Linked DNA regions of Homo sapiens: regions 1, 3, 4 and 5 are each linked to region 2. The links are contacts of gene promoters, found by promoter capture Hi-C in blood cells and fetal thymus (Javierre and others, 2016). All regions are on one chromosome and are shown on one strand. Each heading gives the region's core, a stretch centred on a gene start or on the middle of the fragment in contact. The rest is flanking DNA. Distances are from core to core; before and after follow the strand shown. Region 1 overlaps RPS6KA2 (ribosomal protein S6 kinase A2). Region 2 holds the start of MPC1 (mitochondrial pyruvate carrier 1). Region 3 has its middle 12 kb from the start of LNCDAT. Region 4 overlaps TBXT (T-box transcription factor T). Region 5 has its middle 38 kb from the start of LNCDAT.

Region 1 (4,645 bases), core at 390-2,889, 140 kb before region 2:
AACCTTTGAAAGCTAAAAGATACTGTGGGAAGAAGGACTTTTATTCTGCATCTGGGAGACTGCTCGGGATATAATTTCAGGCTCAATAGCCTTTATGGGGGTAAAGAAAGGAAGTCTCAGGCAATGGCCGCGCAGTGGGGGAGACCGAGCTAGCACAGCCCGCACTCTCCAGTGCTGGTAAGTCTCAGGCGAAAGTGTGTCTGTCGGCTCAGTCTTCAAAATCCCTCCAGTTGCGCTGCATCAACCACAAAGCATCATCGAGCCTCTGACTGCCAGGCCTTCAGGTCACCAAGGCCGTCTGCGTATGCTCAGCCCCCCACAGAGGTGTGTGCAGAAGCCAAGGTCCCGTGGGTTTGTGGCAGCAGAGCTATTGGCACTGCACGGTCAGTGCGGCATCCACTACGTCCCCAACACAGTGGTTTCCTTAGGTGCATTTACACAGCCATTGCTCATCTTCACAGCAGCTGACAGAATTGCATTTAATTTAATTTTATCTTAACCTTAATTTTCTTTTGTATTATCACCTAGATAGAACAGAACAGAACAGTATGCTATAATATGATACGATACGTGTCTTAGTTCATTCAGGCAGATATCACAGAACATCATAGATTGTGTGGCTTCTAAACAACAGAAATTTTTTTCTCACAGTTCTGCCACAAGTCCAAGATCCAGGCTGTGTCAGATTTTGTGCCTGGGGAGGGCTGCTGTCTGGTTCATAGCCATCTTCTGGCTGTGTCCTCACTTGATGGAAGGCATGAATGAGCTCTCTGGGGTCTCATTTCTAAGGGCACTAATCTCATGCATGAGGGCTCCACCCTTCTGACCTAATCACCTCCCGGAGGCCCCACCTAAAACCATCACACTGGGGGTTAGGTTTCAACATATGAATTTAGTGGGGGGAACATACACAGTCTATGGCGTTCCACCCCAGTCCCTAAAATTCATATCTTTCCCACATTCATCCCATCTCCATAGCCTCCGCTTCATTCCCACATCAACTCAAGTCTAAAGCCCAACATCTCATCCAAATCATATGGTTTCCTCTGATCCCCAATGTCAGTATCTCTGCGATCTCTCTGTATTAGTGAGATCCAAGGTATGATTCATCCTGACCACAGTCACCCTCCAGCTGTGAGCCTATGAAAACACACGAGCTCTGTGCCTCAGAAATCCCGTGGTGGGACCAGCATAGGACAGACATTTTCTTTCCGAAAGGAGAAATAGGAAAGAAAAGGAGTAACAGGTCCCAAGTAAGTCTAAAACCCAACAGAGAAAATAACATGGAACCTCAAGACTCCAGAATAATCCTCTTTGACTAGATGCTGTGCCCTCCAGACCCACTGGAGCAGGGGTCCTGCCTTTTGGACATAACGAGTTGGCGGTTCTGCCCCGGAGCTTTGCAGGGCAGGGGTTGGCTCTCCAAGTCCCTGGCCCCACAGCTTTGGGTGGCCTCCCACAGCTTTGGGTGACCCAATCCAGTGTAGTTGGATGGCCCTACAGTGGTTCTGTGCCTGGACCCCAGCCTTTGAAATTTAGGTAAGGGCAGCCACACCCCCAAGGCTCCTGCACTCCCCATGGTGGGGAAAAGAGAACCACACAGTCACTGCCAGCCTTTGCCACCTGCTCCCTCCAGAAGGCAACTGCTGGGGCTCACAGGGCACCAGGGTCTGCCCAAGGCAGAGCTGCACCCGGGACAGCCAGGGACAGCAGTGCTGGAGGGTGGGCAGCCCATGATGTGAGGCAGTGCCCTTGCAGTCCCAGGCACCAGTGGCCCCTACTTTTAAATCATTCTACCCTGGGGCTCTTGTGCCTGGCCTGACATGGGTGGGCAGCCCTGATGCTCTCTGAGTTGGCTGCAGGGTCATGTTTCTGTTGCCTTGGAGAATCGCTGCCGGCTTCTGTGGAGATGGCTGGTCCATACTGACTTCCTATCAGCATTCAGGATTCCTTAGTTATTCCCTAAGAAGATGTAGGCCTTCTCTACAGCTCTCCTTTTCTTTCTGAGTCCTCACCAGAATCACATTGAAAGGTCTGTTCATGGCAAGATAGGCCTTTTCTAGCTGTATCTCAGAACTCTTCCAACCTCTACCCATTACCCATTTCCAAAGCTACTTCTACATTCTTAGGTTTTATTATAGGGGCATCCCACTTTTGGGTACCAAATTCTGTATTATTCAGGATTTTCCAGAGTAACACAACCAACGGGATGGATATACATTTCTTAGAGGGAGATTTGTTACAGGAATCAGCTCACATGGGTATGAAGGCTGAGAAGCTCCAGGAGCTTCTGTCTGCAAGCTGGAGAACCAGGAAGGCTGGGGTGTCATTCAGTTCAAATCCAAAGGCCTGAGAACCAGGAGAGCTGGTGGCATAAGTTCCAGTCCGAATTCAAAGTCCCAAGAACCAGGAGAGCTGGTGGTATAAGTTCCAGTCTGAATTCGAAGTCCCGAGAACCAGGAGAGCTGGTGGTATAAGTTCCAGTCCAAATTCAAAGTCCTGAGAACCAGGAGAGCTGGTGGTATAAGTTTCAGTCTGAATTCGAAGTCCTGAGAACTTGGTGTGGGGAGAGGAGTGCAATGGTTTAAGTCTCAGTCCAAGAACCAGGCACTGATGTCCGAGGGCTGGAAAACATGCATGTCCCAGTTCAACAGGGAGCAGATTCCTCTCCCACTGCTTTTTTGTTCTATTCTGGCCCTCAGTGGGCTGGATGGTGCCTGCCCATATAGGGGAGGGTGATCTTTACTCAGTCCACCAATTCAAATGTTGATATCTTCCAGAAACGCCCTCACACACACACCCAGAAATCATGGTTCACCAGCTCTCTGGGCATCTCTTAGCCCAGTCAAGTTGACATGTAAAACTAACCACCACAATATACTACATAATGTAATATACATATAATGTCTATTGGTGGAGATCATTTAAAAATCAGAAACACAAAGCAATGCCTGCATTGCTGCCTGAAAAGAGGCACCTTGAAGAGGGGTTCCAGAAAGTAGCTCTAGTTGCATATCATATATCCTATGCCTGCCAGGATAATCTCACAAAGTGCTTCCTCCCGTGTTTTCCTGGGAAGGAAACCAGTGTGCCCTTCACAGTGGGGTGAACCTGTTGGTGCCTCCACAACCATCTCAGCCCCAGGGATTGTCTTGGGGCCATGACAGGTGAAGAGCACATGGCAGTTAGAGCTGGTACCAGTAGGCACAGGTTGCTGAACAGAGCAAAGTAAACCACGGAAACTACATCATCCAAACCCGAAACGCGGCAGGTTGGCCACAAATAGAGGGCTAATTTGAAGGACAATGAAATTTTAACTTATCCCCAGTGCCTACCATTTATTAGCGAATCTCAAGATAGCCGAGAACATTTATTCTTTTCACATCTATAGTAGCAATCCCCAGTCAACTCCAGACTAACCTGTTAAGTACCAGAGAATAAACATCACAGAGACGCTATAGCCTGGGCCAAATGGCCTGGCTCCAGAGTCTCCAGTAGTCTAGAACTACCCAACAGGAAATTGTTGCTGACATTTCTGAAGAAACCTCTTCACTTGGTTTTCTTTTTTATACATCTAGATCTTAGAAATGAAAACTCCTTGGACTCCCTGGCTGTCAAAGAGGCGGCTTGAACGTACTCAGCATCAGAAAATGAAACATTTGCTTTCACTGTCTGTTTCTTAGTGGAAGAATCACTCCATGGCTGTCAGTTGGCAGATCCATGGTTGCAGCTCTCTCATTCCATCCCTGGATATGGGCCATGAATGACTGACACCACCTAGGGTGGGCAATGGTGAGGTCAGTGGATTGCAGCTCTGCCCAGCAAAGCTAGAATTTGCACAGACCTGAACATCTTCCCTAGTCCCTCTTGAAGAGCCATTTCCAGTCCTAGTATTTCATATGCTGAGGGCATTGCTTGGTGTAATGACTGTCCTTGTCCCTTGACATCTTGTTTAGTTTGTCCTTGCATTCATATATGGAAACTAGGCATGGTCAGTTACACAGTGTTGTCAGCAGTAATATAGCCCTGCCCTGGAATGAACACATCCTTTTCCTGTTTTCTGCCACCCTAAACTCAACATATACTTGTGTTAGGCCACATTGTGCCTGGGGAGTCAACCATACAGAACATTCTTATAAAAACGTCTTCCCTGCACTGATGGGTTTAATCTGGAATATGTTGCATTCACTGTCATGGCTGGATTCTCTGTTTATTATTATAAGCATAATGATAGTATTTGGGTATTGTATTTATTTTGGCTTTTGACCTTTTTTCTGCTTGTTTAAGATAATCATATTTTTTTGTTTGCCTTTTAATTTTATAATCTTTTTGAATGGCCAATTTGTAAATATTTTGTAACTATGTTTACTGTGTTATTTCTTCCATAGTTTATATTTAAAAAACAAAAAAGATTCCCCTTCCAGACACCAGATAAGTGTTCAACTTTATTATAATTTGTTATTGCTTTTTTTTTTTTTTTTTTTTTGAGGCAGTGTTTTACTCCTGTCACCCAGCCTCAACTTCCCAGGCTCAAGAGATTCTCCCATCTCAGCCTCCCAAGTAGCTAGGGCTGCAGGTGCACACCACCATTCCTGGCTAATTTTTTGTATTTTTAGTAGAGACAGGGTTTTACCATGTTGCTCAG
Region 2 (4,368 bases), core at 994-3,493:
GATACACTTTCAGTGACGATCAAGGTCAGCTGTGACCAATAGAGACCACGATCCTAACAGAAAATGAACCCCACTCAATCAAGGGCTTACCATTTTCATTCTCAAAGGCATTTCTTCTTAACACCACTTATTTTGAATAGATAGCATAAGTAGACTGTACAAATTTCAAAAAGAACAAAGGAAGATACAATGAAAAGTCAGTGTCACTCTTGGTCATCCTTAGAGGCAGCCACTACTAACATTTCTCCAGTATCTTTGCAAACATGAATGTATATATTTTCTTTGTCCCTATGCACAATGAGTAGCATACTTTATACACTATTCAGAACCTGGGTTTTTTTCTTGAAAATAAAAAAGATATTTCATATCAGCACATAAAGAATTCCTTTATTCCTAATGGCTGTATACTAATCCACTAAACGGATGCACCATAATTTATTTAACTCTCTCCCTATGGGTAGATATGTAAACTCTAATCTTTCCATACTAAAAACAATGCTGTACACATGAAATTGCACAAACTGGCTTGTCTATCCTAGGAAATCTCTAGATGGGCTTGCTGGATCAAAGGGGATGTCCATTATTAACACTAATACACTGCGGGTCACTAATGTTGAGAATTCCTGTTCACCAAAGGCATTTCTTTTATTTTTTATTTTAGAGACAGGATCTCCCTCTGTTGCCCAGGCTGGAGTGCAATGGCACAATCTCGGATCACTACAACCTCCACCTCCCGGGTTCAACCGATTCTCACGCCTCAGCCTCCCGAGTAGCTGGGATCACAGGAGCGCATCACCACGCCTGGCTAATTTTTGTATTTTCAGTAGAGATGAGGTTTCACTATATTGGCCAGGCTGGTCTCAAACTCTTGACTTCAAGTGATCCACCTGCCTCAGCCTCCCAAAGTGCTGAGATTACAGGCGTGAGCCACCGCACCCGGCTACCAGAGGAATTTTGTTATATTTATTTGTTTTTTTTGGAGACAGGGTCTTGCTCTGTTGCCCAGGCTGGAATGCAATGGCGCAATCTTGGCTCATTGCAACTTCCGCCTCCCGGGTTCAAGCGATTCTTCTGTCTCAGCCTCCCAAGTAGCTGGGACTACAAGCACATGCCACCACGCCCAGCTAATTTTTTTATTTTTAGTAGAGAGGGGGTTTAACCGTATTGCCCAGGCTGGTCTCGAATTCCTGACCTCAGGTGATCCGCCCGCCTCGGCCTCCCAAAGTGCTGTGATTACAGGCGTCAGTCACCGCGCCCGGCCACCAGAGGCATTTTAAATGATCGTCCACATTAGAAACAAAACGAAACGAAACAACTTGGAAAAGTGAGCAAAAGCCTTCAATGTGTTCTTTTCTCTGCCTTTGTGATCCGAAAGTCGTGCTGCGGTTTATATACTCCTAGGCGAGGGTCGCGTGCTAATGATCCCTTTCTTTTCAATATGCACCCGCGGTGGGACTTACAGAACCTTTATTTTCAACACGTAAGCAGTCACGCTTCCTCGAGCCTAAGGCTTTGTGCTATTCTTAAATGCTTTCCTCCTCCGACGCTGCGGCTCCCTCCTGAGCCCGTAGCTGCAGCGCGTTGGTGAGGAGCGCCGGCCCTGGGTGCCGCCCGCCACCCTGGAGGGACCGGTCCGGGGGAAAGTGCTCGGGAGAAGCCAGGGGCCCCGGCTGCGGTCGCTGGCCCGGGGCTCTGCGCACTCCCCAGTGCCCGGAAACCGCAGGCTGGCCCAGCTTGCGGGCCGGGTCCGCCCACGTGGGTGTGGGAAGCGCAGGGGACGCGGGCCGCCCGGCCAAGGTGCCCTTGCCAGGAACCGGCGCAGACACAGGCCCTGGGCGGCGCGGGAACCCGGCCAGTCCCACCGCGCGCTGCGCCGCAGGGGCCCCACTGCAGGTCGCCCCAAGACCGCGCGACGCTCGGCAGGGCGCCCACAGTCCTGTGGGTCAGAGAAATGTCACCTCCACGTCCCCGCTGGCCGGGAGCCGCTGGAGCCTAGCAACCGCCTGCCAGCCCCGGCCCAGCCCCAGCCGTTTTACGGCAGCGGGCCCCGCCCCCGTGCGCCACCGAGGGCGGGAAGGAGGCGTGCGGCACGAGCCAGCCAGTCCGCGCCACCATCTCTGGCCCTGCGCCCTGTCATTGGCCGAGAGCCGGGCGGCGCGGCGCGGCCGTAAGGCGTGGCCGGGTGTCGTGAGGCGGGCCTTCGGGCTGGCTCGCCGTCGGCTGCCGGGGGGTTGGCCGGGGTGTCATTGGCTCTGGGAAGCGGCAGCAGAGGCAGGGACCACTCGGGGTCTGGTGTCGGCACAGCCATGGCGGGCGCGTTGGTGCGGAAAGCGGCGGACTATGTCCGAAGCAAGGATTTCCGGGACTACCTCATGAGGTGACGAGCGCCGCAGGCCGAACCCCGCAACCCGGAGGGGCTCCCGGGAGGCTGCGACCCGTGCAGTCCGCGACGAGGGCGGCCGCGAGGACGCGGTGGCCCCGGGCAGCGGGTGGGCCGGGGCCCAGGCGAGAGGGTGCGCTTGTCAGGGGGGCCCCACCCGGATCCCTCCCGGACCGCCACACCCCGAAGCGGACGGCGTAGAGAGCCGGTGACAGTGGGCGCCTTTCAGGGCGGGGGTGACAGTGGGCGCCCCTCAGGGCGGGGGTGACAGTGGGTGTCCTCTCCCGGCAGGGTGACAGTGGGCGCTCCTCAGGGCGGGGGTGACAGTGGGTGTCCTCTCCCGGCAGGGTGACAGTGGGCGCCCCTCAAGGCAGGGGTGACATTGAGTCCCCTTCAGGGAGTGGGTGACGGTGGGCGTCCCTCCTGGCCAAGGTGACACTGGGGACGCCTCTCCTGGTAGGCATAACAGTGGACGCCCTTCCCGGCCAGAGTGGCAGTGGGGACCTGGAGGGACGAAAGCGACGGCGCTCCTCAGGACAGGGTGACCATGGGGACGCCTCTCCCGGCAGGGGTGACAGTGGGCGCCCCTCAGGGCAGGGTGACCCGGCAGGGGTGACAGAGGCTCGTTCCTCTCCCATGGTTGGCAGTGGGCACGTCCCTCCGGGCCAGTTGACAGTGGCTCGCTCCTCCGGGCGGGAGTGGTTTCCTGGCCGGTTTCTACCAGATCCTCGGAGTGGGTCGCCGGTCACCTGCGGCCGTCCAGGTGTGCCAGAGGCGGCGACCTGGGTGTGGGGTGGGGAGACGCCAGCGGGAGGCGCTGCTGAGAGCGCGGCGCGGCGCTGTTGGAGCGGAGCTTCGGGTGCGCCCAGCGCGCTTCTGGGACAGCGGAAATAAAATGTGCTGGCCTTGGGTTCGCCTTTCGGTTTTCTCATTCTAAGGACTTTAAGCTTGGGAGGAAGTACAATTTAAGATGTTTTTATATACGAAATTCTGTCAACCAAAGTAAAGTGACGTGTCTCTAAGGTCATACTTTTTCTTCTTGTTCTATTTTCTGTTAACTCCTCCTTTCCAGTTAGAAACAAAGAGCATTCGCGGTTGGAAAGCCTGAAAATACACTTTCTATAATTTATTTGCACCTCTCATCTTGGGGCGCTTGCTTTTATTTCAAAATATTGAATATAACTTTGAAGCAGTTTTAGGTTATTTAGGAGTGTAATTTTAGTTAGTTTTTCAGTGTATGATTTTAAAACCTAGGTACGTGTACAGCTGCGGTTTTTTTTCGGTAGTTAATAGTGTGGTCAAGAGGTAAAGAGATGAAAGCTGAGGAGGAATAAATCCTGTTATAACCACACAAAAGGGATAGTATGAAGGCAACTTGATTTTAGCAATAAAAAAGTTTTAAATCCTGAATTTTATTGCAAATACTGTTTACTTCTACTTTTATAGAGCAGTAGGGTAGGAAAAATAATTCAGTCTGCCATATGGTAAACTTGTAAACAGAAGCTTCACTTCTGACTTTCAAAAAAAGACATTTCTATGCTTAAATAGAACTACTATTAATTAAGATGGGTGTTTAGCACTGTGGAGCACAGCAATGTATCAGATTAATGGTAGTAAAAATGTGAACAAGGTAGCAGTCTGAGGGTATGCTCTCAATCCTTGCTGTTAAGTTTCTCTACAGCTTTGAATATTACTTTAGCTTTTTACTAATGTGTTGGATACTGAGCCTTCCTAATAGGTACAGCTAAGGATAACATTGTGTGGTAAAATTAAAAATACAGTTATGACACCTAGCTATATAAAAATTATGCTGATAATTACTTAACCGTTTTCTTTTCTTTTTTTTTTTTTTTTTTTTTTTTTGAGACAGAGTTTGTCTCTTGTTGCCCAGGCTGGAGTGCACTGGCACTATTTTGGCTCATCCAAACCTCCGCCTCCTGGGTTCAAGTGATTTTCCTACCTTAGCTTCCCAAGTAGCTGGGATTACA
Region 3 (4,652 bases), core at 1,643-4,142, 200 kb after region 2:
TATATACCCAAAGGAATATAAATCATTCTACCATAGACACATCCACATATATGTTCACTGAAGCACTATTCATAATAGCAAAGACACAGAATCAAACTAAATGCCCATCAATGACAGATTGGATAAAGAAAACGTGGTACATATACACCATAGAGTACTATGCAGCCACAAAAAAGAATGATACCATATCCTTTGTAGGAACATAGATGGAGCTGGAGGCCATTATCCTTAGCAAACTAACGCAGAAACAGAAAGCCAAATGGTGCACGCTCTCACTTACAAGTGGGAGCTAAATGATGAGAACTCATGGACGCAAACAGAGGAACAACACACTGGGGTCTACTTGAGAGTGGAGGGTAGGAAGAAGGAGAGGAGCAGAGAAAAATAATCTGTACAGCAAACCCCCATGACATCATTTTATTTATTTATTTATTTATTTGAAACGGAGTTTCGCTCTTGTTGCCCAGGCTGGAGTGCAATGGTGCGATCTCAGCTCACTGCAACCTCTGCCTCCCAGATTCAAGCGATTCTCCTGCCTCGGCCTCCCAAGTAGCTGGGATTATAGGCGCCCACCATCAAGTCCAGCTAATTTTTTGTATTTTTAGTATAGATGGGGTTTCACCATGTTGGCCAGGCTGGTTTTGAACTCCTGACCTCAGGCGACCCACCAGCTTCAGCCTCCCAAGGGGGGTTGGGATTATAAGCGTGAGCCACTGCGCCCAGCCCAGCCCCCATGACATAAGTTAAGTTATATAATAAAACTGCACATGTACCCGTGAAACTAAAATAAAAGTCTTTAAAAATAATACAAATAAATAAATATTTTTTGGAGGGAAAATAAAATAAAAAGCTTTCACTTAAAAAGTTGCCATTTGGCTGGGTGCGGTGGCTCATGCCTATAATCCCAGCACTTCGGGAGGCCGAGGCAGGTGGATCACGAGGTCAGGAGTTCGAGACCAGCCTGACCAACACAGTGAAACCCCGTCTCTACTAAAAATACCAAAAAAATTAGCTGGGCGTGGTGGTGGGTGCCTGTAATCCCAGCTACTCAGGAGGCTGAGGCAAGAAAATCGCTTGAACCCGGGAAGCGGAGGTTGCAGTGAGCTGAGACTGCGCCACTGCACTCCAGCCTAGGCGACAGAGTGAGATTCCATCTCAAAAAAAGAAAAAAGTTGCCATTTGGCCGGGTGCGGTGGCTCACGCCTGTAATCCCAATTTGGGAGGCTGAGGCGGGTGGATCACTTAAGGTCAGGAGTTTGAGACCAGCCTGGTCAACATGGTGAAACCCTGTCTCTACTAAAAATACAAAAAATTAGTCAGATATGGTGGCAGGAGCCTGTAATCCCAGCTACTTGGTTGGCTGAGGCAGGAGAATCGCTTGAACCTAGGAGGCAGAGGTTGCAGTGAGCCAAGACCCCACCATTGCAGTCCAGCCTGGCAACAGAGCAAGGCTCCTTGAGGGGGAAGAAAAAGTTTCCATTTATGGTAGCAATAAAAATTAATTATCTAGGAATAAATTTGGAAAAATATTTGCAAGCCCTTCATGGAGAAAGTTATTAAGCATTATTAAGAGACATTTTAAAAAAGACCTAAATAAGCAGAGGTGCTGCCTTCATGGGCAGAAATCCTGTACGTTGAAAAGGTGTCAGTTCTCCAGTCTGATCTTGAGATTTAATGCCATTTTAATAATTTTTCTTGGAACTTGACAAGCGAATTCTTAAGCTTATATAGAAGAGCAAAGATCTGTAATAGATAAGACATGATAGTAAGTGGTGGGAGCTTGTCCTATATGATATCAAGCCCTAATTTAAAGCTACATAGCACTCAAAATGGGACAGATAAAAGTATCAATGAATTAGAATAGGAAGCCCAGAATCAGATAGCCCAGAATCAGATGCAGAAATGATTTATGTCAGATTTATTGCTGATCTTTGGTGAAGCAATTGATGATTCAATCAATGATGCAGAGTCGACCAGTTTTCTCCACTGAAGTTGGATCTCTATCTCATCTTAGGCACGGAAGTCAATGCTAGGTGGACTAGAGTCTGAAATGTAAAAATGTAGAACTATACAATGTAAAGAATATGGAAGACTGTCCTGGGGATGGAAATGGCTCTTTCAGATAAAGTCACAAAGGGCATAAAATGCAAAGGAAAGGTGTGATATATGTGATTATATTATGTTGGGAATCTCCGGTCACAAAGGACATCAATAAGGAAGTGAAAAGGCCAGTCACAAAGTAGGAGAATGTTTTTCTACTTATAAAGCTGACAAATGATGAGTACTGGCATTGTAGAAAAACTCCTGTAATTGTTTTTTAAAAAATATTCCATGGCATACTCAAAAAGATTTTGTGGGAAAATTGGAAAAATGTGATTTAAAACCATGACATCCTTTTTTTATACGCCTCACACTGGAAAACCTCTTAAAATCTGACAGTATCGAGTATTGGCTAGGATGCAAAGCCAGGGGAACCCTTCCTCAATGTTACTGGAATATAAAATTAGTGCAACCTCTTTGGAAAACAATTCAGCATATTCTAAAAATACTGAAGACAGACACTACCTAGAAATTTCCCTTCTAGGCTTATATTCACCTACAGGAACTTTTGCACATGGACATCAAAAGATATAACAATTTTCTCATGAATCTATGAGACAAATAGGAAAATTTGGACACTGGCTAGTTTTTGATGACATTAAGGAGGTCTTGTTTATTAATTTTAGGTGTGATAATGATATTATGGTTATGTTTAACCAAAAATAATCCTAGGTTTTAGGGATACATACTGCAGTACTTCCTTTATGGATGGAAAGATGTCCAGTAATCCTTCTAAAATCATCTGGGGGTGGGGGTGATTAGGGTGGGGAGACAGGTAGAGCAATATTGTCCATGTGTTCATGACACTATTCTCTAACCATCACCCCTGGTCTGGTCTACATGCCCATGCCGTTGGCAGGGAAGGCCCGTGCAGCAGAGAGCCAGAAAGTGCGGATGGTGCAGAAATGAGGAAGTGAGGACCTTCCACATAGGTGTGCGGACCGGCCCCGCCTGTGTTCCTTTGCTGCTCACTATGTGGTTTAAATGGATACATTAAACTTTGTGATTTGAGGATCTTAATTTGGCTGGTGAGCTATTCTGTTTTGTGACCTCTGTGACAGCTTTCCTGGGGGTGAACTGCAAGGCTACCTTTGCATCAAAGTTCACTTCCCAGGAGCCTGTCACAGCCCCGCTTTCAGTAACCGCGTCCTCAGTCACAGTACCATGTGCGCTCCCTTCTAGCATGGGAAGAGAATGGTGAGGCCAGTTACTCTTTTGCCTTATTTCTTAAACAAACTCCTTTAATAGCATAGAAATATGTTTTTAATTTTCAAATAGCATGTCTAATATGTTACATGTATGACAATCAGTTGAGGGGGGACCCACAAAATGATGCCCTCACACAGTGTGGGAAGAGGTGCCATGGGTGGGATGGGGGAGGATGGAAATTAGTTTTGGGTAAGGGAGTCTGGATGAATAGGCACTAATAAGTAGTCAGTTAATTAAAGACTAATTTAATTTTACTAGGACTTTGGCTTCCCTACACAATGTTGATCTCAGATCAAGACTTGGGTGGCAAGACCCTCTTGACTGTCTAGTTAGAATCAACAGACTGGGGCAAAAGTCATTTTGGTTAAGAAAGGGGGAACAAAGGATTTCCAAAAAGACAAGATGCCTCTAATAATTGTTAACTGTTAATAACTGGTAAATATCTATTAATTCAGACCACTGTTAATTTCAATCTAATCTCTAAATTTGAGTACTCTCCACCAAGAAAATGTGAGGCTATTGTTCAAAAATGATGGCTTATTACAGTAATAAGGGCCATAGAGCTCATAGCCATAGAGCTCACATGAATTCAACTCAGGTGAGTTCAACTCAGGTGAATTCAACTATAAATAACTCAGGTGAATTCAACTATAAATGTTTAGCCAAAAACAGAACAAAAATATCTAAACTTTGTACCAAAATGCAAGTCAGCAACTTCATCCAGTGCAATGTAAAAGCTAGAGGAAAGCTTGGCTGTATTGGGTTTATTACAAAATGCTGTGCACAAAAACATATTTTCTTTGTAAGCAAATAAAATTTTAAAGATATTTGAGCCACACACTTCAACTTTAAAACCTGCCCCTTTTAGATAAGGTTCTGGTCTCTTCTCAACAGATCCAGGGGAGAAAAGAGCAGGCCCCAAGTTTCCAGCTGGCCAGACAGGCTGTGGGTTACATTTCATTCCCTGGCAACATGGGAAGAAGTGAAGCGGCCAGTGCCTTGGTTTCCTCATCTCTAAGCAAGCCATCAGACCACCGCATGAGAAGGTTGTGAAAGTCCTTGATGACTGGGATAATTTTCTTAACGCGCTTGGAACCCAGGCCTTCCAGCTTTCCCTCCTCCTACTCTGCCTTCCTTGAGGATCTGAGTTACATCCCGCTGGTTTATCTCCAGTGCTATTACCTGGTGATGACCAGTGAAGGCTCTAGATTCCCACAGGAAGAAATTCTGGCTCCCAGGTTTATGCTCCTTATTTCAATTTAATTTTATTATTATTATTTTTATTTTTGAGTCTCGCTCTGTTGCCCAGGCTGGAGTGCAGTGGCGTGATCTTGGCTCATTGC
Region 4 (4,118 bases), core at 1,476-3,975, 220 kb after region 2:
GGGTCTACCCCCAGCTAGGAAGGCACCTCCCGTCTCTGTGGGTGGCAGGAGGAGAAGGGGAGGGCACCCTTGTCTAAGCACCACCCCACCTCTCTCAGCATCTCTCACCTGCTCTCTGCCTGTGGTTACATTGTATTCATGCTCAGTGGAGGAAAGCTCACCTGCCTTGGGGAATAGTAGATCTCAAAGCAATCCAGAGGATTCTCAGGAGGAAACAGCTTAGGTTGCCTGAGGCCAGGCTCCTGGGTTTACTCAGGTACACACAGGATTGGAAGCCTTGGGTTACCTGTGGTAGTGAGTGTGGGGCTGATGGCCTCAGATGTCTTGTGAGGCAGACTGTGTCCTAAGTATGAGACACTCAGGGTGCTTCCCCCATCAGGGGCCCCTGAGGGGAAGGTGGGAAGTCACTGGCCTGGGCTCTGCTCTCTGGAGTGATGGAGGGACAGTCCCTGGCCTGGGCTCTGCTCTCTGGAGTGATGGAGGGAGAGTCCCTGGCCTGGGCTCTGCTCTCTGGAGTGATGGAGGGAGAGTCCCTGGCCTGGGCTCTGCTCTCTGGAGTGATGGAGGGACAGTCCCTGGCCTGGGCTCTGCTCTCTGGAGAGATGGAGGGAGCACTAATGCAGGTTACTCAGCACTGTCTTTTCTCACAGCAGGGGGGTGGCTTCTTCCTGGAACCAGCACCCTGTGTCCACCTGCAAATCCTCATCCTCAGTTTGGAGGTGCCCTCTCCCTCCCCTCCACGCACAGCTGTGACAGGTACCCAACCCTGAGGAGCCACCGGTCCTCACCCTACCCCAGCCCCTATGCTCATCGGAACAATTCTCCAAGTGAGTCCTCAGCCTCATTCTGCCAGGGGTTGGTGGGTGGCTGCAAGACCACTTTGGGAAAGGCATTCTGCAGGAGTCTAGAATCTAAAAAAATGGAGACGGTTTTCTGGAACACATACCCAAGCCCAGTTTTTTAGTAGCTCAAGAGAAGATCTTCAATTTATGTCTCCGCCACTGCCGCTGCTGGCGGAACAACCACGGACACCCAGATCAGAGGCTTGCATCCTTGCACAGGCCTCAGAGCTGCTGCTCCAGGTTTTGAAAATGACAGATTCCTGGGCCTCTCCACAGAACCATGGTCGATCCTTAGGAGGAGAGCCCAGGTTTGAGTCTTCTATGAACCTCTCTAAAGTGACAATGATGGGCAGCCAGGCTCAAGAATTCCTGACTACACCAGTGATTCTCCAAATACGGTGCCCAGGCCAGAGCCTCAGCACCACCCGAGAGTGGGCACAGTCTCAGGCCCCACCCCAGACTGACAGGCAGCAGCTCTTGGTGGGGCCCGGCAATGTGTGCTTTTTTTTGAGACGGAGTCTCGCTCTGTCGCCCAGGCTGGAGTGCAGTCGCACGATCTCGGCTCACTGCAAGCTCCGCCTCTCGGGTTCACGCCATTCTCCTGCCTCAGCCTCCCAAGGAGCTGGGACTACAGGTGCCTGCCACCAGGCCTGGCTAATTTTTTTGTATTTTTAGTAGAGACGGGGTTTCACCGTGTTAGCCAGGATGGTCTCGATCTTCTGACCTCGTGATCCACCCGCCTCGGCCTCCCAAAGTGCTGGGATTACAGGCGTGAGCCACCACGCCTGGCCAGTGTGCTTTTAAAAGCCTTCCAGGCCATTCCGATGCATGCTCCAATATTAGGAACACTGGGATAGACCATAAAGATCCCCTGGCCTAATTCTCTCTATAACACTGTATATGTCTAGACTTAATTTTGTCTGGCTCCAAAAGAAGGAAAATAGCTAAAGAATACCATAAAACAATTAAGCAATTAAAGCTGATTTGAAATGAAAGGACCTTATTGGGTTAGGAAGTCACTGGGACTTGTTCAACCAGAGGCTAGACTCTGAGGCAGGAAGATCTTATTTCTAATTTTGCCTGGAGTAATGGTTTCTATCGCCCATTCTTATGAAGTAATCACTGGTAAAAAGGCAGGGTAAAGTTATATTTATTTTTAAAGATAAGTAATTCCAAGTCAGTGATTGTAAGTAAGATTCAATGTCTACAGGGCATCTACTGATAATGATGATAAGGGAAAAAGCTTGGGTTTACCAGGGTATGTTTTCAAATACATATATTTGGCAATAAATCTTGCCCCTGATAACCATGTAAATAGACTAATGGATTGTTTTCTACAGTTAATATCCCATGTACATTTTGTTTTCAGTGTTACGTAGCTTCAGTTATTGGTGGTATTTCACTGTACTTTGTTGTTCTTGGAAGACACCATCTATAATTGCACTTTGTTACCTTCCCCCCTTAGCCTATTCTGACAACTCACCTGCATGTTTATCCATGCTGCAATCCCATGACAATTGGTCCAGCCTTGGAATGCCTGCCCATCCCAGCATGCTCCCCGTGAGCCACAATGCCAGCCCACCTACCAGCTCCAGGTAATGTATGTCCAGGACCTGGTGCAAAGCATCCTGGGAGCTCTGCCTGTGACTTCACGCTGTTTCCATTCCCATAGGCCCTTAGTCCTTATTCTCCTTGGTCCCTGTGGGTGGTTGGGTCTTTATTTAGAATTCTTTATTAGCCAGCTATGCCCAGGGATTGCAGGTGACATGACTGCCGAGTTCCTGTTTGCAGTCTGTTCGCTGGAAGGACTGGGCTCCTTTACAACCCAGGTGTGGAATGGGAGCTGCGCTATCCCATCCCTGAATGAAACCAGGGTCCCCATCCTGGTTCTGCCACTTACTGGTTCACGTGATGGACAAGTCTTTTAGCCTCTCTGGGCCTCAGTTTCCTCACATATAAAAGGAAGGTGGTAAAAAAATAACCCAGCCTCGGCCTGTCTCCTACAGGGTTGTTGGGGTCAGTAGGTAGAGCTTAAAGAGATCGTTTCGGAACCTTTTCCAACAAAAGCTAGTAAATGAAGGAAATGAGTTTATTGGCTTTTCTATGGATACAGGCTCGAAGTCTTTAATATATGTGCTAGGTAACTGGTAAACAATGATGACTATTTTGTTACCAACTTGCAAGTTATGCAGAGGGAAAAAGGCTTACAAATTAAGCAGGCTGGTAAATGTCTTACATTTCTTCATAGGATGAATATAAAAACCTAAAATACCAAAGCTAGAAGTCAACCCTCACTTTCTAGGGAGGAAGGAGGGCCAGAGATATTAAATGATTGGACCAGCTCACAGCAGAGTGAGCCTGGAATTAAGTGATCTTGACCTCAAAGGCAATGCACTTCATTTTCTAGAATACCAAAATATGCCTGCGATCTTAATTCTTGTCTAGAAAACAGTTCCTTCATAATAAGAATTCAATTGCCCGCGGTTAGAAACAGAGCAACAATGCGTAAACAAGCGAAGCTTTCAGGGGCTCCAAGAGCATCGCCCCAGAAGCCTGCACCCGATCAGATGACCCGCACACTGCAAGCTGTTGACAGAGGCCCCACCCGAGGGTCTCAGTGTGGCTCTAATTGGGCATCTTAGAACCTGAAGCTTTCATTTGTAAAATGGCATAAAAATCTGCCTTGATTAACTCAGACTTGTTTAAAACAGTATGGTGATACAACATAAGGTCTCATTATTCACTTGTAGAAAGACAAGGTTATTTCCCAAAATAAAATCTTACCATAATTGAATGCTATCCACTTCCATGTGCTTAGACTGGAGAATTCAATAGTCATTTCCACCTTCCTCATTTTATGCCTTGAGAAACACAGCCTATAAGTAGTCTCAGGCAAAGTGTAATGTGACACAGCTAGGTAAAGGCGGAACTGGGAATGGCTTCCTAGTCTGACTGCCAGGTGCTTTTCTTGCTGCTGGGCACCATGCTAGCACACCTATGTACTGAACAGGACAAAGTGCAGGGAATTGTGTCTGTACTGGAGTTACTCTAAGGAATGTCTGCTGCTTAGTGTTTGAGGAGAGGCTGGTCTTCATCGTGAGAATCACTGCGGTGGTGGGGGTGGGGTGTCCTAGATAAAAACATGTGTACTTAAGCCCATCCTCAGTAACTTTTGGTTGAGACTATCTGAAAAGTTTTATTCTGAATGAGAGTGCAAAACTACTGGTCTGAGTCTTTCTTTTCTGTTTTGTGTGTTTGTTTGACGGAGTTTCACTC
Region 5 (4,296 bases), core at 627-3,126, 180 kb after region 2:
AGGCTGAAAGTTCCCACCCTCTACTGGCATGGTCTTTCTCATGCCCACCCCATCCTGAGGCTGTCCCAGGACCCAGCCTCGCTTACTTTGTTAGCAGGCACTCAGGTGTGATGGGAAGGGGCTCCTGGCCAACACCAAAGACAGCCCTGACACTCAGGAAAGGCGTTTAGGGGCTGCGTGCCAGGAATGGGGGACAAAAACCCAATTTATTTAAAATAAAATTTTTTAATTTAAAAATTGTTTCAGAAATTAAAAAAAAATAATTTTTTTTTTTTTTTACTTTTGAAAGCTGTTTAACTTTTTTTTTTTTTTTTTAAATGAAATAGATTTCTTGTCATTCCACAGGGTGGTAGAGATCAAATCCAGGATGGGACATGAGGGCTTAACCCTAACCCTAACCCCTAACAGGAAAGACCTGTGCTTCTCAAGCAGGGGAAGCACCCCCAGGAACTGAGGAGAAAAGGGCCCTTCAAGAGCAGGTAGTGCACAATTCCTGGGCATTGACTGCACCTGAAGATACGCGCAAAAAACCATTCTTACAACGAGAAAGCAAACACAAGTACTTTAAGCAGTAAAAGGAAAGTTAACGAGATTTTTTGAGTAAAACATGTGACTTCAAAGAGATTTTTACCCTTGAAGTGAGCTGAGTCCCAGATGTGCTGGGCTGTGAAGTCGCCTTCCTCTGACACTGGTGGGTCTTCAGGGAAGCCGGGGAGAAACTGTATTAGTCTGTTTTCACCCTGTTGGTGAAGACATACCTGAGACTGGGTAATTTATAAAGAAAAAGAGGTTTAATGGACTCACAGTTCCACATGGCTGGGGAGGCCTCACAATCATAGTGGAAGGCAAAAGGCATGCCTTACATAGCCGCAGACAAGAGAGAGTGAGGACCAAGCAAAAGGGTTTTCCTCGTAGAAAACCATCAGATCTCGTGAGACTTACTCACTGCCATGAGAACGGTATGGGGGAACTGCCCCTGTGATTCAATTATCTCCTACCAAGTCCCTCCCACAACAAGTGGGAGTGATGGGAGCTACAATTCAAGATGAGATATGGGTGGGAACACAGCCAAACCATACCAGAAACAGTACCTTTTTTTTTTTTTTTTTTTTTTTAAGATCTATAAATATAAAGGCAGTGTAGAAACCTCAGGGAGCCTGGACTTGGCACAGCCTAGAACTAACACAGTTCAGATTCGCTTTGCCTGGAGGACTGGAAGGATGGGCCTGCCTGGGGTATGAGAGACCAGAGCTTTCTGGCAAAAATCCTCAGCCCAAGGTTAGGCACAGTGCAAATTTGGTCCCAGGACATCAGGCCAGTTTGAGAGGCCCAAAGAGCTATGCCTGAGTCCCAGAGGCCAGTGGATTAGTTCAAGAACATTAAACCAAGGTGTGTGTTGCAAGAAATTTCGCTAAGGTGTTTGTTGCAAAAGATACATTAAAATCTTAAGTCCTGGGGCCTGTGAAGTGGCCTTCTTTGGAAATAGGATTTTTGCAGATGACATCGAGATGTGAGCTAGGATGAGGTCATCAGGGTGGGTCCTAATCCAACATGACTGATGTCCTTACTGAAGAACATCTGAAGAGGAGGAGAGACACACGGGGTCATGGCTGTGTGAAGACGGAGGTGGAGACCGGGCTGACGCACCAGCAATGCCAGAAGAGGGAAGAGGGGAGGGAAGCTTCCCAGGAGGGAGCACGGCCCTGCCGATACCGTGATGTCAGGCTTCTGGGATCCAGAACTGTAAGGGAACAAATTTCTGTTGTTTAAAGGCACCCAGTTTGTGATGCTTTACAACACACCACAAATGATGGATGACGAATACAGCATCCATCATAACACAGAAGCCCAGTGACCCAGCAGCCGCGGTGGCGCGCTCTGGCAATTTCCAAAGAGACCGCTGCTAGCGTCCCAGCAGTTATATCCACACTGAGTTAGACACTAATGGGGTTTGGGACACAAGACCCTGAAATCTGGCACCTTGCATATTCCCGCAGTTCACTGCCATCAGGTGACACCCGCTCTGTGTACTCACCCTTTTCCACCACTGTCCGCTCTCCATCAAGCTTAGCCTAAAGATACACAGGCCTCCCTGTGCCTTTTGGTCTTCATATCTAAAGGTGCCTGTGTCATGTAAAAATTACATACAATGAAATAAATTCGCCTGCTTTTCTCTTGTTTATCTGTCTTTTATGATAGGTGTCTCAGCCATAAACCTAGCAATGGGTGAGGAAATAACTTTTTCTTCCCTTACAGAACTGGATTCAGCACCGCAAAACTGAAACCGCCTCCAGAAAAGAGCCTCTTGCGAGAACGCAGAGGCTTGCCTTTCTCTCCTGTCGCTGAGAGTCCCTGGCTGGCTTGGGGACCCCATGGTGCTGCTCGCTCTTGCCTGTTGCTGGTGGGGGCTTCCTGCTCCTGACCTCATACTACCTCTGCGGCAGAGGGCCTGAGACAGAGGGGATCCCTGCCCATCCCGCCAGCCCTCTTCTCAGGAAGCTTCTGGAATCTCCACCCAAAAACTTCACTGACATTCTGCTGACCAGAGCGTGGTCATATGGCCACCCCATCTCACAAGGGGGCTGGAAAAATGCATTTTCTTCAGCTGCGCACCTTATACCCCACAGCAGTACCTACGGGCCTGGTAGTGAGGAAGAGGATGGGTAACGGAAGTTAGGTCAGCAGCTAGCAGTGTTGGCCACCAGGGGAGAGTCACAGCCACTTTCTGGGCCTGGTGGTGACTTCACATTGGTTGCCAGGAGGATGATTTTGAAGATACCGTAAGTGTTAGTAATAGTAACGCTGCTACCGGAGTGCTAGGAATGATGGCAGCTGGGGCTGGAGCTCCTGCTGAGCTGGGGAGAGAGAGCCTGGCTGTGCTTTCTTGTTTCAGTTTGTTTTGCTTTGTTTGTTTTACCTGCAGGCCTGTCGAGCCCTCTTGTAACTAATCTTCCAGTGTCTGCCGCTGAAGGTGTCCAGTAGCTAACTTCAGGACTCTGTCATCCCCTCTTCATTTGGGGGAATTTCCTCTACTTACTTGAAACATTCAGATTTTCCACTGTCAGTTTTGGGTGAATGAACTATGCTTATTACTTTTAATAAAAGTCTTCAAAATCTCATCAGTGCCATGTCTTTTTCTTAGGCCTTGAAAATCATTCTTGGTTTATTTTTGAGAAATATTTAGGCCAGGTGTCGTGGCTCATGCCTGTAATCCCAGCACTTTGCGAGGCTGAGGCAGGAGGATTACTTGAGGCCAGGCTGGGCCACATATCGAGATTCCGTCTCCACAAAAACTAAAAAATTAGCCAGATGTCATGGTGCATACCTGTAGTCCCAGCTACTTGGGAGACTGAGGTGGAAGGATGACTTGAGCCCAGGAGCTTGAGGCTGCAGTGAGCTATGACACTGCCAGTTCACTGCAGTATGGGCAACACAGTGACACCCTGTCTCAAAAAAAACACCAACATTAATTTAAAAAAATTCAAATAGTCATGAAAATCGTTCTTGATTTCAGTTTTAGAGTGCTGCTTATTATTTTGAAAGACTTAATCTTAGTTAAATTGTATGTTCTGTTTCCAAATTTCTCCTTACTTGTAACTTAAAATTGATGTCTCCTTTATATATTGAAATGTCGTTTCTGAGATATTTCAGTCGTGAGATTTTTTTCGGTTTGGTGCTATTCTGGTGTCTAATAATAATCACTTAGGAAAAAACACAAAGATAATTTCCCAGGCTTAAGTGTTTTTTTTCTTTAGTAGATTCAATGTACCTTTAATTTCACTAAACACATATTGAGAGATTCACTTCCCATTTTTACACAGAGCCCGTCATAATGTCCTAATTAATAAGTGTGCTCCATATACTTGGGACTAAAAGAACAGAAAATTTTCCTGTTTGGATAAAAGTCCTGATGCTCATGTTTGACAGCGATACATGCTATTTTGGGGAATTTAACAGGATGAAGCGATGCCTAGCGACCCGAGGCTGCATTTTTTTCTGCCTTGTTTGACGCACACACACCCTGTCTTGTTCCCATACCAGCCCTGCCCCGCAGCAGCCGCATGTCCGCTGTGCATTTTGTGTTTGTCGTGTACCTGTGCAAAGCCCATGTTGTTCTGTCTGCATGTTCTTGTCTCCTCTGTTCCTTTTTTCCATTCAGTGCCTCCAGGTCTCTATGTCTGTCTCGAATCCGATGCTTCTCAGCACTGCACCATCATCTGTGGTGAGGCTTCCACTCCATTTTCCTTATCTGTTGTCCCTGGATGGTTTAGATTTGTGAAAGGGGCATTAAAGACA

What was found. The method cuts DNA at HindIII sites, captures the fragments that hold promoters and counts their contacts. A CHiCAGO score of 5 or more calls a contact.
Region 1: a contact is called between a fragment that was not itself captured here and the fragment with the promoter of MPC1 in region 2, in 1 of 17 cell types (naive CD8 T cells). The highest score is 5.2, in naive CD8 T cells.
Region 3: a contact is called between a fragment that was not itself captured here and the fragment with the promoter of MPC1 in region 2, in 1 of 17 cell types (M0 macrophages). The highest score is 5.0, in M0 macrophages.
Region 4: a fragment that was not itself captured here is called in contact with the fragment with the promoter of MPC1 in region 2 in 2 of 17 cell types (M0 macrophages and neutrophils); the score reaches 8.4 in M0 macrophages.
Region 5: a contact is called between a fragment that was not itself captured here and the fragment with the promoter of MPC1 in region 2, in 1 of 17 cell types (neutrophils). The highest score is 5.7, in neutrophils.

The regions. Positions count from the first base shown.
Region 1 is chr6:166,518,093-166,522,737 of GRCh38, reverse strand. The region is part of intron 3 of RPS6KA2 (ribosomal protein S6 kinase A2); the gene reads left to right. Among named protein-coding and RNA genes, the nearest start is that of MIR1913, 11 kb to the right of the region's middle. The HindIII fragment of the contact is 8,410 bases long and covers 1-4,645 here.
Region 2 is chr6:166,380,815-166,385,182 of GRCh38, reverse strand. It overlaps MPC1 (mitochondrial pyruvate carrier 1), which reads left to right and starts at 2,243. Exons shown (of 5, transcript NM_016098.4): 1 at 2,243-2,377. The coding sequence starts at 2,307. It overlaps MPC1-DT (MPC1 divergent transcript), which reads right to left and starts at 2,005. Exons shown (of 1, transcript NR_189630.1): 1 at 1-2,005. RefSeq lists silencers at 1,571-2,310, 2,461-2,560 and an enhancer at 2,921-3,100. The HindIII fragment of the contact is 5,196 bases long and covers 1-3,329 here.
Region 3 is chr6:166,178,251-166,182,902 of GRCh38, reverse strand. No RefSeq gene overlaps it. Among named protein-coding and RNA genes, the nearest start is that of LNCDAT, 12 kb to the right of the region's middle. The HindIII fragment of the contact is 2,335 bases long and covers 1,725-4,059 here.
Region 4 is chr6:166,159,156-166,163,273 of GRCh38, reverse strand. It overlaps TBXT (T-box transcription factor T), which reads left to right. Exons shown (of 8, transcript NM_001366285.2): 6 at 651-827; 7 at 2,308-2,437. Among named protein-coding and RNA genes, the nearest start is that of TBXT, 6.6 kb to the left of the region's middle. The HindIII fragment of the contact is 1,276 bases long and covers 2,088-3,363 here.
Region 5 is chr6:166,203,562-166,207,857 of GRCh38, reverse strand. No RefSeq gene overlaps it. Among named protein-coding and RNA genes, the nearest start is that of LNCDAT, 38 kb to the right of the region's middle. RefSeq lists an enhancer at 1,266-2,465. The HindIII fragment of the contact is 385 bases long and covers 1,684-2,068 here.